5 separate regions of the Homo sapiens genome follow, and all the other regions are linked to region 3. The links are contacts of gene promoters, found by promoter capture Hi-C in blood cells and fetal thymus (Javierre and others, 2016). All regions are on one chromosome and are shown on one strand. The core of a region is centred on a gene start or on the middle of the fragment in contact, and the rest is flanking DNA. Distances in the headings are between cores, read along the strand shown. Region 1 overlaps THAP4 (THAP domain containing 4). Region 2 has its middle 22 kb from the start of AGXT. Region 3 holds the start of ANO7 (anoctamin 7). Region 4 holds the start of THAP4 (THAP domain containing 4). Region 5 has its middle 14 kb from the start of MAB21L4.

Region 1 (2,838 bases), core at 1-2,500, 400 kb after region 3:
ACGAAAGCTGTATTAGAGTTACAAACTAAAACTTACATGATGATGTTAAGATCACAGCTAGCCTCTTGGGAATGCTCCATCTGTAGGAAAATATAGACTCGGCTCTTTAAAAGTAATGAGAAAATGACTGCCATCTTTTTTTTTTGGAGACAGGGTCTTGCTCTGTCACCCAAGTTGGAGTGCAGTGGTGTGATCTTGGTTCACTGCAACCTCCACCACCCGGGCTCCAGGGATCCTCCCACCTCAGCCTTCTGAGTAGGTGGGACCACAGGCATGGACCACCATACTCGGCTAATATTTCTATTTTTTTTTGTAGGGATGGGGTTTTGCCACGTTGCCCAGGCTGGTCCCAAACTCCTGGCTTCAAGCCATTTCCTCGCCTTGGCCTCCCAAAGTGCTGGGATTATAGGCGTGAGCCACTGCGCCCGGCCAACTCTATAGAAGATTTACAAATATTTTAGATCTTGTCAAAACTGTAAGAAGAAAGAAAAGGAAAGAGATTCATCCCTTCTTAATTTTTTTTTTTTTTTTTTTCCAGACAGAGTCTTGCTCTTGTCTCCCAGGCTGGAGTGCAGTGGTGCGATCTTGGCTCACTGCAACCTCCAACTCCTGGGTTCAAGCGATTCTCCTGCCTTAGCCTCCCAAGTAGCCAGGATTATAGGCATGCGCCACCACACCTGGCTAATTTTTTGTATTTTAAGTAGAGACGGGGTTTCTCCATGTTGGTCAGGCTGGTCTCGAACTCCTGACCTTAGGTGATCCGCCAGCCTTGGTCTCCCATAGTACTGGGATTACAGGCGTGAGCCACCACACCCAGCCCCCTTCTTAATTTCTTAGGGAACGCTTTGGAAAACAAACATCAGCAGATAAAAAAAAAATGTACAGCCTACGCAAGTGATAATATTCAAAATCCTCAGCCATAAAAATAAAGGCCTTTTATTTGGTTTTTCTATGCCAGTACAGAAACATCTGGACAACACTCTTGAGCCTGCAGAGGCTCACGGCCACACCCACTTCTGCCGCAGGGACTGTCTGTTGAGGAGCCGAACCGTTGAGGCACAGTAGCCAGGCCCTCCCGAGGGCTCCAGAAGCTCTAGGTTTACGGGGTCACCTTCTTGTAGGTGACGTGAAGATGCTGAGTCATTGGCTGTGTCGTGGTTGCCATGGAGACCGTCTGCTCAAGTTTGCCTTCAGAATTCAGCCTGAACTTCCGGGTGATCTGAGCAGGAGAATGGAACAAAGATAGCTTAGTTTTATCTTCAAAAGATTCAATCAATGCCTGTGCGCCCACTGCATGCCACACACTCATCACGGGCTGTGAGCCAGGCAGTGGCCCTGCCAGAGGAGGGTAGACACACAGCCCAGGGCCCCTGGGCATGTCACAATCCAGGTGCCCTTCAGCTGCCTCCAGAAGACCACCAGGGGAACACAGGGATTGTTTATTTAGAAGTCACCTTTTTTGTCGACGGCCATACCACCCTGAACGCACCTGATCTCGTCTGACCTCGGAAGCTAAGGAGGGTCGGGCCTGGTTAGTACTTGGATGGGAGAAGTCACCTTTTTTTGGTCTCTACAAATCATATACCTGATCAGACAAGCGCTGAGCTTCCAGTGCTTCCCTTCTCCACTGCCTCCCACTTTCACTGTAACTAGAACTGATGTCCAGTGTGTTCTTGGAAAGCTCAGAAATACCATCTTTGGAACAGTAATTCATCAGAATAAATTATAGCAGCTGTTTCCAACAAGAATCCAAGCCTATGGCAGCTAAGTCCCGAATGAGTCAGCCCTATATGCCCAGAATGTTTGCCGGCAAATTGTGAGAGTGACCACTGTCAAAAGACAATTCTCTGATGGGCACTATCTCTCTAGTGCCCCAGATGTGTGGGGGGTCATGTGGGGTGGGGGGCACCAGAAGTGGATGAAACGGAGTTCTGCTTATGGCCATGGCTGACTACTCTGTAACTGACCAACCCTCCTGCAGATAACAACCCAGGTTTTAAGAAGTTTCTTTAAAGGTGTCAGAGAACCACCAAGTCAGCGAGGACCAGCACCCCAAAGAGAAGGAAGTGTGGAGGTGAGACCCAATTTGGAGCAACTGGCCCCGATGCTTTTGCTGCCCGGAAGTCAAGGGGTTCAAGGGGTGGAGGCTGAGAGGGATGTGGTAGCTAAGAGGCTGAGAAGCTAAGTGGGGCCTTCTCAGACTCATGGAGCTGGAGGGACAAACACTGGAATTCAGTGTCCATCTAGGAGGAGAGGCGCAGCCGGGCATGGTGGTATGCACATGTAGTCCCAGCTACTCGGGAAGTTGAGGCAGCAGAATTGCTTGAACCCAAGAGGTGGAGGTTGCAGTGAGCCGAGATCATGCCACTGCACTTCAGCCTGGGTGACAGAGCAAGACTCCTTCTCAAAAAAAAAAAAAAAAAGAAAAAAAAAAGAAAAAGAAAAAGAAAGAAAAAAAGCACCCTGAGGTTGGGCACGGTGGTTCACGCCTGTAATCCCAGCACTTTGGGAGGCCGAGGCGGGCGGATCACGAGGTAAGGAGATCGAGACCATCCTGGCTAACAGGGTGAAACCCCGTCTCTACTAAAAATACAAAAAAAATTAGCCGGGTGTGGTGGCGGGTGCCTGTAGTCCCAGCTACTCAGGAGGCTGAGGCAGGAGAATGGCGTGAACCCAGGAGGCGGAGCTTGCAGTGAGCCAAGATCGCGCCACTGCACTCCAGCCTGAGCAACAGAGCGAGACTCCATCTGAAGAGGAAAAAAAAAAAAAAAAAAAAAAGCACCCCAGCTTTGGGTGGGGTCCCTGAAGGGTCCCATCCCAGGAGTAAGAGTTAACCAG
Region 2 (2,912 bases), core at 104-2,603, 340 kb before region 3:
TGTATCTGGTGGAAGAAATTTCTAAGTGGCAAACTGTTCAAGAGGAAGCAGAGCATAAAAGTTTGAAAAATTTGCAGCCTGATGATGCAATGGAAAAGAAAACCCATTTTCTGGGGAGAAATTCAAGCCAGCTTCAGAAATTTGCATAAGTAATGAAGAGCTGAGTGTTAATCACCAAGACAATGAGGAAAATGTCTCCAGAGCATGTCAGAGACCTTCACAGCAGCCCCTTCCATCAAGGGCCCAGAGGCCTAGGAGGGAAAAAGGGTTTCCTGAGTTGGGTCCAGGGCCCCCCTGCTGTGTGCAGCCTTGGAACTTAGTGCCCTTCGTCCCAGCCACTCCAGCCATGGCTAAAAGGAGCCAACATACAGCTCAGGCCATTGCTTCAGAGGGTGCAAGCCCTAAACCTTGGCAGCTTCCATGTGCTAATGGGCTTGTGGGTGCCCAGAAGTCAAGAATTGAGGTTTGGGGAGCTCCCAATCCCTAGATTTCAGAGGATGTATGGAATTTCCAGAATGTCCAGACAGAAGTTTGCTGTAGGGCAGAGCCCTCATGGAGAACCTCTACTAGGGCAGTACAGAAGGGACTGTGGGGTCAGAGCCCCCACACAGAGTCCCCACTGGGGCACTGCCTAGTGGAGCTGTGAGAATAAGGCCACCATCTTCCAAACTCCAGAATGGTAGATCCACCGACACCTTGCGCTGTACATCTGGAAAAGCTGCAGACACTCCATAGCCAGCCCATGAGAGCAGCCAGGTGGGGGGAGGGGAGGTGTTGTACCCTGCAAAGCCACAGGGGCAGAGTTGCCCAAGGCCATGGGAGACCACCTCTTGCATAAGCATGACCTGGATGTGAAACATGGAGTCAAAGGAGATCATTCTGGAACTTTAAGGTTTAATGACTGCCCTGTTGGATTTCAGACTTGCATGGGGCCTGTAGCCCCTTTGTTTTGGTCAATTTCTCCCTTTTGGAATGGGTGTATTTACCCAATTCCTGTACCCTCATTGTATCTAGGAAGTAACTAACAAGCTTTTGATTTTACAAGCTCATAGACAGAAGGGAATTGCCTTGTCTCACATGAGACTTTGGACTTGGACTTTTGTGTTAATGCTGAAATGAGCTAAGACTTTGGGGGACTATTGGGAGGGCATGATTGTGTTTGAAATGTAAGGATACGAGATTTGGGAGGGGCCGGGGTGGAATGATATGGTTTGGCTCTGTGTCCCCACCCAAATCTCACCTTGAATTGTAATAATCCCCATGTGTCAAGGGCAGAACCAGGTGGAGGTAACTGAATCATGGGGGCAATTTCTGCCATGCTTTTCTCATGATAGTGAGTGAGTTTTCATGGGATGTGATGGTTTTATAAGGGGCTTCCTCATTTGCTTGGCACTCTTTCTCCTTCCTGCCTCCATGTGAAGAAGGATGTCTTTGCTTCCCCTTCTGCCATGATTGTAAGTTTCCTGAGGCCTCCCCAGCCCTGCATAACTGTGAGTCAATTAAACCTCCTTCCTTTAAAAAATTACCCAGTCTCAGGCAGTTCTTTATGATAGCGTGAGAACAGGCTAATACAGACTCTCAGCTTATCTTTCCTAAATACAGAAAAATGAGGGCCTCAGCAAAAGCCTGGCTGCATCAATGCAGGTTTTCTATACAGATGCAAATTTCCCCACAAAAGAAAGCTTTGCAGGGCTGCTTCTGTTTTCAGGCCCTCTGAACAGCCATCTCAAAATATGTCAAAGAAGTTTATTTGTGGGGGATATATTTTGGTTTCCTTTCTGGTGGAAGCTCAGATCCTGGGGGAAGGTGAGCCTCCAGGCCTGCCTCCTTCTCTCCCTCTCCGCTGCCCAGAAACTCCTGGGACAGGGAGTCTGGACCCTGGTGAGAGAATCTGAGAGAGTGGGCTGGCCAGGCAGCCAGGGCAGGGCAGCCACACAGCCCTGCAGAGAGCACTGGCCGGACCTGTGGCACAGCTGGCCTCCTGCCAGGAGCTGCCCGTGTGCCAGGCACCATGGCCAATCCCTTCCCTGTCAACCCTAAATAAAGAGATTCAGAAAACAGGATGAAATGGACAGTTAACTTGAGCACAGAGCATAAGGACAGCCACCTGGGAGCACAGACTCCAAAGAGTGGGAGTTGGTGCTCCGAAGTTCTGGGGGCTATTTGTATAGATAAGGTTTGGGAAGCTTAACAGGTGATATGGTTTGGCTGTGTCCCCACCCAAATCTCATCTTGAATTGTAGTTCCCATAATTCCCAGATGTCATGGGAAGAACCCAGTGGGAGGTAACTGAATCATGGGGACAGTTTCCCCTATCCTGTTCTCATGATAGTGAGTGAGTTATCATGAGATCCTATGGTTTTATAAGAGGCTCTTCCCCCTTCACTCTGCACTTCTCTCTCCTGCCACCATGTGAAGAAGGACTACAGTTGTACATTCGAGGTAAGGAACACCGTTGGGCATTAGAGGGAGAGGAGCACCACTGTACTTTAGAGGGTGAGGTGCACCATTAGGCATTAGAGAGTGAGGAGCATGGTTGTGCATTAGAGTGTGACAAGCACCATTGTACATTAGAGGGTGAGGAGCACCGTTGTACATTAGAAGGTGAGGAGCACCATTGTGCGTTAGAGGGTGAGGAGCACCGCTGTACATTAGAGGGTGGGGAGCACCACTGTGCGTTAGAGGGTGAAGAGCACCGCTGTGCGTTAGAGGGTGGGGAGCACCGCTGTACGTTAGAGGGTGGGGAGCACCGCTGTGCGTTAGAGGGTGAAGAGCACCGCTGTGCGTTAGAGGGTGGGGAGCACCGCTGTGCGTTAGAGGGTGGGGAGCAGGGCTGTGCGTTAGAGGGTGGGGAGCACCGCTGTGTGTTAGTGGGTGGGGAGCACCACTGTGCGTTAGAGGGTGGGGAGCAC
Region 3 (2,700 bases), core at 195-2,694:
AGTCCAGCCCTCGTCCAGGGATCCACCTCAGGCGCCTGCAGGCTGAGCTTGGCCAAGCAGAGACCTCTCATGCAGATGCCCTGAGGCCCAGGGCCCCAAGGTCCTGCCGCCCAGGCTCTGCTGGTGCTGACAGGGAACCCGGCCTGCAGGGCCTTCCCGCTGTTCCGAGGCACAACACAGGTCCAAGAACAGGGCCCCTTGGGAGGTGCCAAGCACAGAGGGGCATAGGTATAAGGGAAAGCTGCAGCCAGGATGAGGGTCCGCCTGGAGGGATTTCAACAGGCAGAAGGGGGCACCTGGAACAGCAAGCTGAGCTTGGGGCTCCCCAGTGCAGTTGTGCATGGAGGGCGAGGAGCACGGGTGGTAGGTTCTCAGACACTGCCAGGCACCAAGGAGGAAAGGGGGAGGGGGAGGGAGAGGGGAAGAGGAGGGGCGGGGAGAAAGGATAGGAGGAGAAGGAGGAGGAGAGGGAGAAGTGGGGGGAGGGGGAGAAACAGGAGGAGGGGAGTGGGGAGAAAGGAGGAGAAGGAAGAGGAGAGGGAGAAGTGGGGGGGAGGGGGAGAAACGATAGGAGGAGGGGGAGTGGGGAGAAAGAGGAGGAGGAGGAGGAGTTGGGGGGAGAAATGATAGGAGGAGAGGGAGAGGGGAGAACGGATAGGAGGAGAAGGAGAGGGAGGAGTAGGGGGGAGAAACAATAGGAGGAGAAGGAGGAGAGGGAAGGTGGGGAGAAAGGATAGGAGGAGGGGGAGAAAGGAGGAGGGGGAGGAGGGCTAGGAGGAGAAAGAGGAGGGCTAGGAGGAGAATGAGGACGAGGAGGAGGGCGGAAAGGATGGGAGGAAGGCTAGGACCCCTCCTGTCCTTTTGCAGATGGGGCCCTGAGCATGGGATGTGCCTGAGGTCACCCCTCAGGCATTAGCAGAGCCAGCAGTGTGATCTGGGTCTCCCAATCTCCCCAGCCCCCGGGTGAAACCCTGGCCCACCACTCAGCACATGCTACGTAACCTCAAGGAGCCTCAGTTTCCCCCCACATAAACAGAGCTTACGAGGTCTGCCTGGCAAGGCTTCCAGCAGAGGTGGCACTTGTGGCTGTTCCTGTGGAATCCCACCTCCTCGAGACCCTCCAAGGCAGCAACTATGACAGCTGATGCCAGCCCTGAAATCTCTAAGCAAATAAGGTTCCCAGGAGGACGGCAGCATTTGCATGCGGGTGTGTGAAAGCCCAGCCAAGTGGGCTGCCTCTGTCTGCAGCTCTGAGCCCCACACCCCCTATTTAAACAAAGATAGATCCTGCTCCAGGAGCCGGGAAGCCTTGCCCTGGCCAGCTGTGCTGGGCACCTCCCCTGCCTGCTTCCTGGCCCACTTGCAGGCAAGGTGAGGGCATGCGAATGGCTGCCACTGCCTGGGCGGGGCTCCAAGGGCCACCCCTCCCCACCCTCTGTCCCGCAGTGAGGACGGGACTCTACTGCCGAGACCAGGCTCACGCTGAGAGGTGGGCCATGACCTCCGAGACCTCTTCCGGAAGCCACTGTGCCAGGTGGGGACCCAGCCTAGACGTGTGGGCCACAGGGAGAAGGTGGAGCGTTGGACTCTAGGGAGGCAGGGCGGCACCCCAGCCCACCGGGACTTTCACACACCCTGGCCTGTGGGGAGGCAGTGCCAGGGCCCGCCCTGGTCCCCAAAGCCCCTTGGGGCACGAGGAGGGACACACACTCAGTGCGGCTCTGGACGGGGTACACCCAGCTGGGGTTGGCTTCCTGCCTGCCCAGGGGCTCCCCCATGGAGCAGGTCCCTTCGTTGGGGTGGGGGGCATCCCCATTCTTTCTGCAGAGAGCTCTGAGGAGGGGCCCGCCTGCCCACCACAGAAGGATGGGGGCATGAGGGGCTGCTGGGTGGCCGAAACTCCTCGGGGACTTTCCTCCAGGAACACCCCACAGTCCGTAGTGAGGCTCCCAGCCTGGGGCCGGGGCCGAGTCCTAACACTGAGACCTGGCTCGGGCTTCAGGGTTAGGCAGGTGCAGGCGGCCCAGGCTCAGTCTCTGTCCCTCTGGGCCTCCGCTAATGTGAAGTGAAGGGTAGAACTAGAAGGCTGCCCCTCCGACCTCCTGCGGCGCCTCCATGGTCACACCCTCCGGTCATCGTCGCAGCTCCAAATGCCAGCCCCAGCTCGAACCCTCTCCTTCCAGGGCCACAGATGTCGTGCTCCTGGCCCCGTTTTGCCAGCCCAAGACTAGGAGCCACGGCACCTGTCCTCCCACAGAGAGAGACCCCCGGGGCGAAGGTGCGGGAGGAAGCTGGGACCCCCAAGAGTTGTGAGGCCGGGCTCCATCAGGCCCGCCTTGCTGGGGAGCTCAGGGCCTATGGGTCCTGGCACTGGGTCCTCAGGCCATGAGCGAAGGCAGGCGACTTGAGGGGTTTCCTGTCCCTGGCTCACATGGCTCCACCCTACGGATAAGAGAGGGAGAGGTGTCTGTACTCCAGGCCCACCTTTCTGGGCCTTCTCAGGCTCCACTGAGTACCCAGGCAGAGTGGACGGCATTCAGGGCTGGGGGACACGGGCACTCACTGGATGGACAGACAGACGCCTGCTGTGCCAGGCCTGCCAGACGCTCCCGCCCCGGCACTGGTTTCTTCCTGGAGCTCGTGGCTGGCTAGGGGGTTCTCCATGTGCTCATGGCCAGGAGAGTCTGCCGAGCCAGCCCA
Region 4 (2,700 bases), core at 201-2,700, 450 kb after region 3:
GCAGTGAGCCGAGATCGCACCAATGCACTCCAGCCTGGGCGACAGAGGGAGACTCCTTCTCAAAAAAAAGAGAAAAAAAGAAAAAAAAACCAGGCCCTAATGTGCACATAAGGGACAGGGTGGTCAGTTCTAACTGCTATTTGCTCCACCTGAGGCCAGTGTGGACCAGGACAAATCCTAACAGGATGGACTGGGCCGTTCTAAGCAACAGGACCTTCTAACCTCCTTTCTGAACACTGTGAGGCCAACTGCAAAGGTACCCCCCCACCCCCAATTCCGATGTCCTTTCCTCCCATACCATGTTAGACCGTTGCAACACGTTGCCTCGTTTTCAAAAAACAATAACAAAACTTCTAGGACACAAGCTCTGAAGGAAATTGTCAAGAAAGTGCGCTGGCTGACTTGTGAAATAATCTAATGTTACTAATTCTTATAATACATTGTAATGATTTAAGACTTACAGCAAACTACTGTGAACTTTCAATAACCCTATAAATAACACGTGCCATTCCCGTCTTTAAAACTTAAATAACACCATGCAACATAAAACAGAAACATCTCCAAAGTGGTTTTTAAAGTCTGTTCGCGGTTCTGGTGCCTCCCGCGTGTAATCCGCAGAAATCTCACTGAAATAGGCTGAACTCACAAGGCCTTAGAGGGGTTTGGGCCCTGCCGCGGGGGCCCACGTGGGAAGCGGCCGAGAGCCCCGGGCCAGGCTCTAAGGGAGCGCAGGAGGATGCCGTCCCCAGCCGGCCGTCCCGTAGACTCTCCGCGCGTACCCGCGTCCTGGGCTCGGGGGCCCAGTCCCGGAAAGCCCTCTCGGGGGCTGTCAGCTACGGAGGCGCAGGTCGCGTCTGCCCGGTCGCTCCTGCTCGCAGACATCCAGGCCGACGGCCCGCGCGGTCCGGAGAGTCAGCAGTCGCGGCCGAGCAGGACAATCGGCCCAGGACCTGCGCTTCCAGAGCGTGCGGCTTCTGAAGCCTAGGCGCCGGCCGGATCGATCGCGCGCAGGGCGGACCCAGGCGGCCGGGGTGGGGGCGGCTGCGCTGCCCGAGGCGCCCGGCCCAGAGACGGCGGCCGGGCCAAGGTCACACAGCGCCCACGCCCGCTCCCCCGCGCCCCGGCCGCCGAGGCCCGGCGCCCCCGCCCCCCGCGTTCGGGCCGGCCGCGGGGCCTCAGTTTCCCCGCAGGGCCGGGTCGGGGCGGGGGCGTGGCGGCCCGGGGCCCGCGTACCTGTGGAAGGAGACGGCGCGCTTCTCGCCCTTTCCCTGCCGGTTGGAGCAGTTCACGGCCGCACAGCAGATCACCATCGCGGGCCTTGGCCCAGCCGCGCAGCCAGGCCCCGGCCCTAGCCGCCCGCCCGCCCGCGGACCGCCCCGAGGGAGGGAGCGCGGCGGCGACACGGCTCGGGACGTGGGCCGGCCCGCGGCGTCCGCGCCGTACGGCAAGATGGAGGCGCAGGCGCCCGCAGCGGGCCCGCCCCCGCCCCAGCCCCCGCCCGCGTCCTCGCCAGCCGCGGGTTCGGGCGTCTTCGGACCAGCGGGGCGCCGCAGGCCCCTCGCAGCGTCCGTCGGCAGGCGGGCAGACGGGCGGGGGAGTCGCCCCGGCGGGGCAAGTCCGTACCGCGACATGGGCGCGCCGAGCACGTCCGTACCGCAAGATGGCTGCTCGGACGGGGACAGAGCTCGCCTCTGCCGCCTCGACAACTGCTCCTGGGTCCTCTAAGAGGAGGAAGCGCCACCCATGGCACACAGTGTCCCGTCGGACAGCAGAACCAGCCGTCGTCCCACGACACGACCCCATGCCGCCCGCAGGGCGCCCCGGGGCTCGCGTCGGCCCGGCCGTACGCCAAAATGGCGGCTCCCGCGTATTTCCGCTCGCGCGCCGTATCGTCTTCGCCGCCTGCGCCGGCACACCTATTGGCCCCCGCGGCGTCCCGTCGCCGCGTCGCGTTGCTGGCCCGTCGGAGCGACGCCGCTCGGGTCAGTCGGCGGCCGGACTGGGAAGATGGACGCAGGTGAGGAGTTGCCGGGGGTCGGTCTTTCCGCAGGAGGTGCTCGCCTTATCATTGGCCTCCCCTGCTCGGGTCGGGCTGCCGCGACTCGCCTCGGGGCACGCCGGTGCGGGCCAGGCTGGGCCGGGGCGGCGGGCGCTGCGGGAGCGCGGGGCGGTGTTGGTGGGTGGTGGGCGGTGGGAGCGGGAGGGGGACGGCGGCGCACTGCGCCGCGGAACCCGCCGTCGGTTGCGCTGGAGCTTCTGCTTTTCCGGTCCCGTCCGGAGCGCTCCGGAGGTTGTGGCTGCACAGGCCCTTGCGCCAGGTCGGCCGTGGAGGGCGGCGGAGCCTGCCGGGCGGGGAGAGGCGCGGCGGCGAACGGGGCGGCCGCGGTCCGGGCCGGGGACGCGAGCGGCGGGCGAAAGCGTAGCCTTTCCGCAGCTGAGCGTGAAGGGATGGAAGCTCTTTAACTTTTATGAAGTTATTGGTAGGTTGGAGGAGAGAAACGTGACGTGTTCATCACAGTATACGTATCTTTTTTGTTTTTGTCTTCAATTTAGTAACCAGTAGATTCTCCAAGCTGCTTTTCCGTGACGAGAAAGAGAAACAGTGAATTTGTATCATCGGGTCTTAGTTTCTTGGGGTCCTAAGAGAGAGAGAAAGAGAAGGAGTGTGTGTGTGTGTGTATAGGGAGTGTTGGTTTTTTT
Region 5 (2,700 bases), core at 200-2,699, 310 kb before region 3:
CATTCATAGGTCTATTTACAGCCTCTCTTCTGTTTCATTGCATCCTCGTGTCAATCCCATGCTGTTGCAAATATTGTAGCTTTACAATAACTCTTGAAATTAAGAACAAGTCCTCCAATGTTTTTCTCCCTTTTAAAGGTTTTTTGTATTCTACATCCTTTGAATTTCTGTGTACGTTTTAGATTCATGTTGTCTATTTCTTCAGAATAGCTTGCTGAAATTTTGGTAGGAACTGCACCAAATCTATATATCAAGTTAAGGAAAATGGAAATAAAGTATAAATTCCATTTCACAAACAGAAATGTAAGTATTTTAAAATTACTTTCAGCAATGTTTCTAGTTTTCAACATACAGCAAAGTGGGAGGGGGTTATTTAAGGAAAGCCAGGAACCCAGGAACAGGAAAGCCACTGATCCAGCCCAGGAGGCAGGACCAGGCAGCCTCCCCGGCCCCCAGCGGCCCTTCTCCCTCCAAGTAGAACCTCCTGGAAACAGCCCACTTGGGCGTAGATCTTTTGTTAGATTTATTCCTAGGTGTTTGATCTTGTTGATGCTGTTATAAATGGCATTTGAAAATTTTCATTTCCAGTTGTTTATTTTTTAATATATAATCTCATTTTTTTCTATATTAATTTTGTATCTTCTGACCTTCCTAAATTCACAAGGCCTAGTAGCTTCTTTGTAGATTCCTTTAAATTTTCTAAGTAGATAATCAAACTCTCTGTGACTAATGAGAGTTGTACATCTTCTGCCTTTTATGTACTTTTTCTTGCTTCATTGCAACGGTGTAGGCCACAAATACAGTGCTGAATCTCAGTGATGAGTGTGCACCTTCTCGCCTTGGAGACGTGTTTAATGTCTCAGCGTCAGGCTGACGGCAGCAGTGGGGTTTCTGCAGCTGCCCTGCTCTCACAGGCAGGAAGTCCCCACCTGTCCTAGTTTGCAGAGGGTATTTATCACTAACAGCTGTTGTATTTTGTCAAATACCTTTTCTGCCTATGGTGAGATGATCATAAAGTTATGTTTCTATATTCTACGGATGTGCTGTTTTGTTGACTGACCTCTTATTTTCTCGTAATATATTTGTCAGGTTTTGATAGCAAGGTTACATTGGTCTTGTAAAGTGGTTTGGACAGTATTTTCTTTTCCTTTATTTATCAATTAAATTTGTCTAGAATAGGGACTATTTTTTTTTTCCTTATATTTTGGTAGAATTGTCCAGTGAAGCTTTATGGGACAGGAGCTTTCTTTATGGGAAGGATTTTTTTAATGACTTCTAATGTTTTCATAGACATAGAGTTCTTTAGATTTTTGTCTCTCTCTTTGTGCCCGTTTTGGTAATTTGTGTTACCCAGAGCATGCTTGATTCCAAGTTGTTGAATGTGTTGGCATAAAATCATCCATAATATCCCTTTATTATCCTTTAATGCTTACGGGCTCTCTATTGATTTCCCTGTTTCATTCCTGGTATTGGTAATTTATATTTTCTCCTTTTTTTTCTCCCATTGATCAGTCTTGCTAGGGGGTTACTGATTTTATTAGTCTCTCCAAAAAAGCGACATTTACCATCATTTTCTCAATTGTTTGCTTTGTATTGATTTCCACTCTTATTGTTCCTTTTATTTTACTTCCTTTGGTTTTAATTTGCTCCTCTTTTTCTAGCTTCCTATGGTAGAAGCTTAATTGATTTTAAACATTTATTTGTTTTCTAGTATGAGCATTTAAAGCTAAACATTTCCCTCTGAGCGCCTTCTTCACTGCATCTCCCAAATTTTAATCAATGGTGTTTTTGGAATCACTCAGATCAAAATATTTTATAATTTCCTTGTGATTTATTCTTTGAACCACAGACTATTTAGACTTATACTGTGTAATGTTCAGATATTTGGTGGATATTCTAAATGTATTTTTGTTTTTTATTTCAAATTTATGTCTGTTGTGGTCAGAGCTCATACTGTATATGGACTTCAGTATTTTGAACATGTACTGAGAGTCTGTTTTATAAACTAGCAGCAGTCTCGGTGACTATCCCATGGACACGAGATGAACGTGTCTTCGTCATTGTCAGGTGTGAGCTTCTACAGATCCTCAGGTCCGCCTGGATGACAGCATTGTTCAAGTCTTCTTTGTATCACTGGGGTTTTGTTGTTGTTGTTTGTTTTGTTTTGGTTTTTTGCCTGCTTTTTCTATGAAGTACTGAGAGTGGGGTGTTCAGTTCTCCCAGCATGAATGTGGTCTTGTCTCCTTCTCCCTTTATGCATTCATCTTCATGATTTTGAAGGTCTGTTGTTAGGATTGTTACACCTTCTTGATGAACTGACTATTTTTATCATTGTGAAATATCGCCCCTTACCTCTGGTAATACTCTTTGTCTTAATGTTTGTGTGTTTTCTTTCCTTGGGCCACTTGTCTCTCCATACAAAAGAGATGAACGATTTCTATTTCTTTTCTTTTCTTTTCTTTTCTTTTCTTTTTTTGAGACGGAGTTTCGCTCTTGTTGCCCAGGCTGGAGTGCAATGGTGGGATCTCGGCTTACCGCAACCTCCACCTCCCAGGTTCAAGCAATTCTCCTGCCTCAGCCTCCCGAGTAGCTGGGATTACAGGCACCTGCCACCATGCCCGGCTAATTTTTTGTATTTTTAGTAGAGACGGGGTTTTACCATGTTGGCCAGGCTGGTCTCGAACTCCTGACCTCAGGTGA

What was found. The method cuts DNA at HindIII sites, captures the fragments that hold promoters and counts their contacts. A CHiCAGO score of 5 or more calls a contact.
Region 1: a fragment that was not itself captured here is called in contact with the fragment with the promoter of ANO7 in region 3 in 2 of 17 cell types (naive CD8 T cells and total B cells); the score reaches 5.5 in naive CD8 T cells.
Region 2: a fragment that was not itself captured here is called in contact with the fragment with the promoter of ANO7 in region 3 in 1 of 17 cell types (endothelial precursors); the score reaches 6.1 in endothelial precursors.
Region 4: the fragment with the promoter of THAP4 here is called in contact with the fragment with the promoter of ANO7 in region 3 in 11 of 17 cell types (erythroblasts, total CD4 T cells, total B cells and 8 more); the score reaches 13.3 in erythroblasts.
Region 5: a fragment that was not itself captured here is called in contact with the fragment with the promoter of ANO7 in region 3 in 5 of 17 cell types (M2 macrophages, endothelial precursors, total CD8 T cells and 2 more); the score reaches 7.1 in M2 macrophages.

The regions. Positions count from the first base shown.
Region 1 is chr2:241,583,507-241,586,344 of GRCh38, forward strand. THAP4 (THAP domain containing 4) reads right to left here. Exons shown (of 6, transcript NM_015963.6): 6 at 899-1,219. The coding sequence ends at 1,100. It also overlaps the pseudogene RNA5SP122. Among named protein-coding and RNA genes, the nearest start is that of BOK-AS1, 26 kb to the left of the region's middle. RefSeq lists an enhancer at 793-1,321. The HindIII fragment of the contact is 4,093 bases long and covers 1-2,838 here.
Region 2 is chr2:240,845,436-240,848,347 of GRCh38, forward strand. No RefSeq gene overlaps it. Among named protein-coding and RNA genes, the nearest start is that of AGXT, 22 kb to the right of the region's middle. The HindIII fragment of the contact is 653 bases long and covers 1,028-1,680 here.
Region 3 is chr2:241,187,233-241,189,932 of GRCh38, forward strand. It overlaps ANO7 (anoctamin 7), which reads left to right and starts at 1,445. Exons shown (of 25, transcript NM_001370694.2): 1 at 1,445-1,534. It overlaps LOC105373971 (a long non-coding RNA gene), which reads right to left and starts at 1,190. Exons shown (of 3, transcript XR_924064.3): 1 at 1,044-1,190. RefSeq lists enhancers at 715-1,399, 1,400-2,083. The HindIII fragment of the contact is 15,628 bases long and covers 1-2,700 here.
Region 4 is chr2:241,635,708-241,638,407 of GRCh38, forward strand. THAP4 (THAP domain containing 4) reads right to left here and starts at 1,451. Exons shown (of 6, transcript NM_015963.6): 1 at 1,234-1,451. The coding sequence starts at 1,310. It overlaps ATG4B (autophagy related 4B cysteine peptidase), which reads left to right and starts at 1,986. Exons shown (of 13, transcript NM_013325.5): 1 at 1,986-2,017. The coding sequence starts at 2,008. RefSeq lists silencers at 974-1,113, 1,184-1,253, 1,284-1,633, 2,004-2,053, 2,074-2,263 and 1 more and an enhancer at 1,607-2,534. The HindIII fragment of the contact is 17,924 bases long and covers 1-2,700 here.
Region 5 is chr2:240,881,241-240,883,940 of GRCh38, forward strand. No RefSeq gene overlaps it. Among named protein-coding and RNA genes, the nearest start is that of MAB21L4, 14 kb to the right of the region's middle. The HindIII fragment of the contact is 451 bases long and covers 1,225-1,675 here.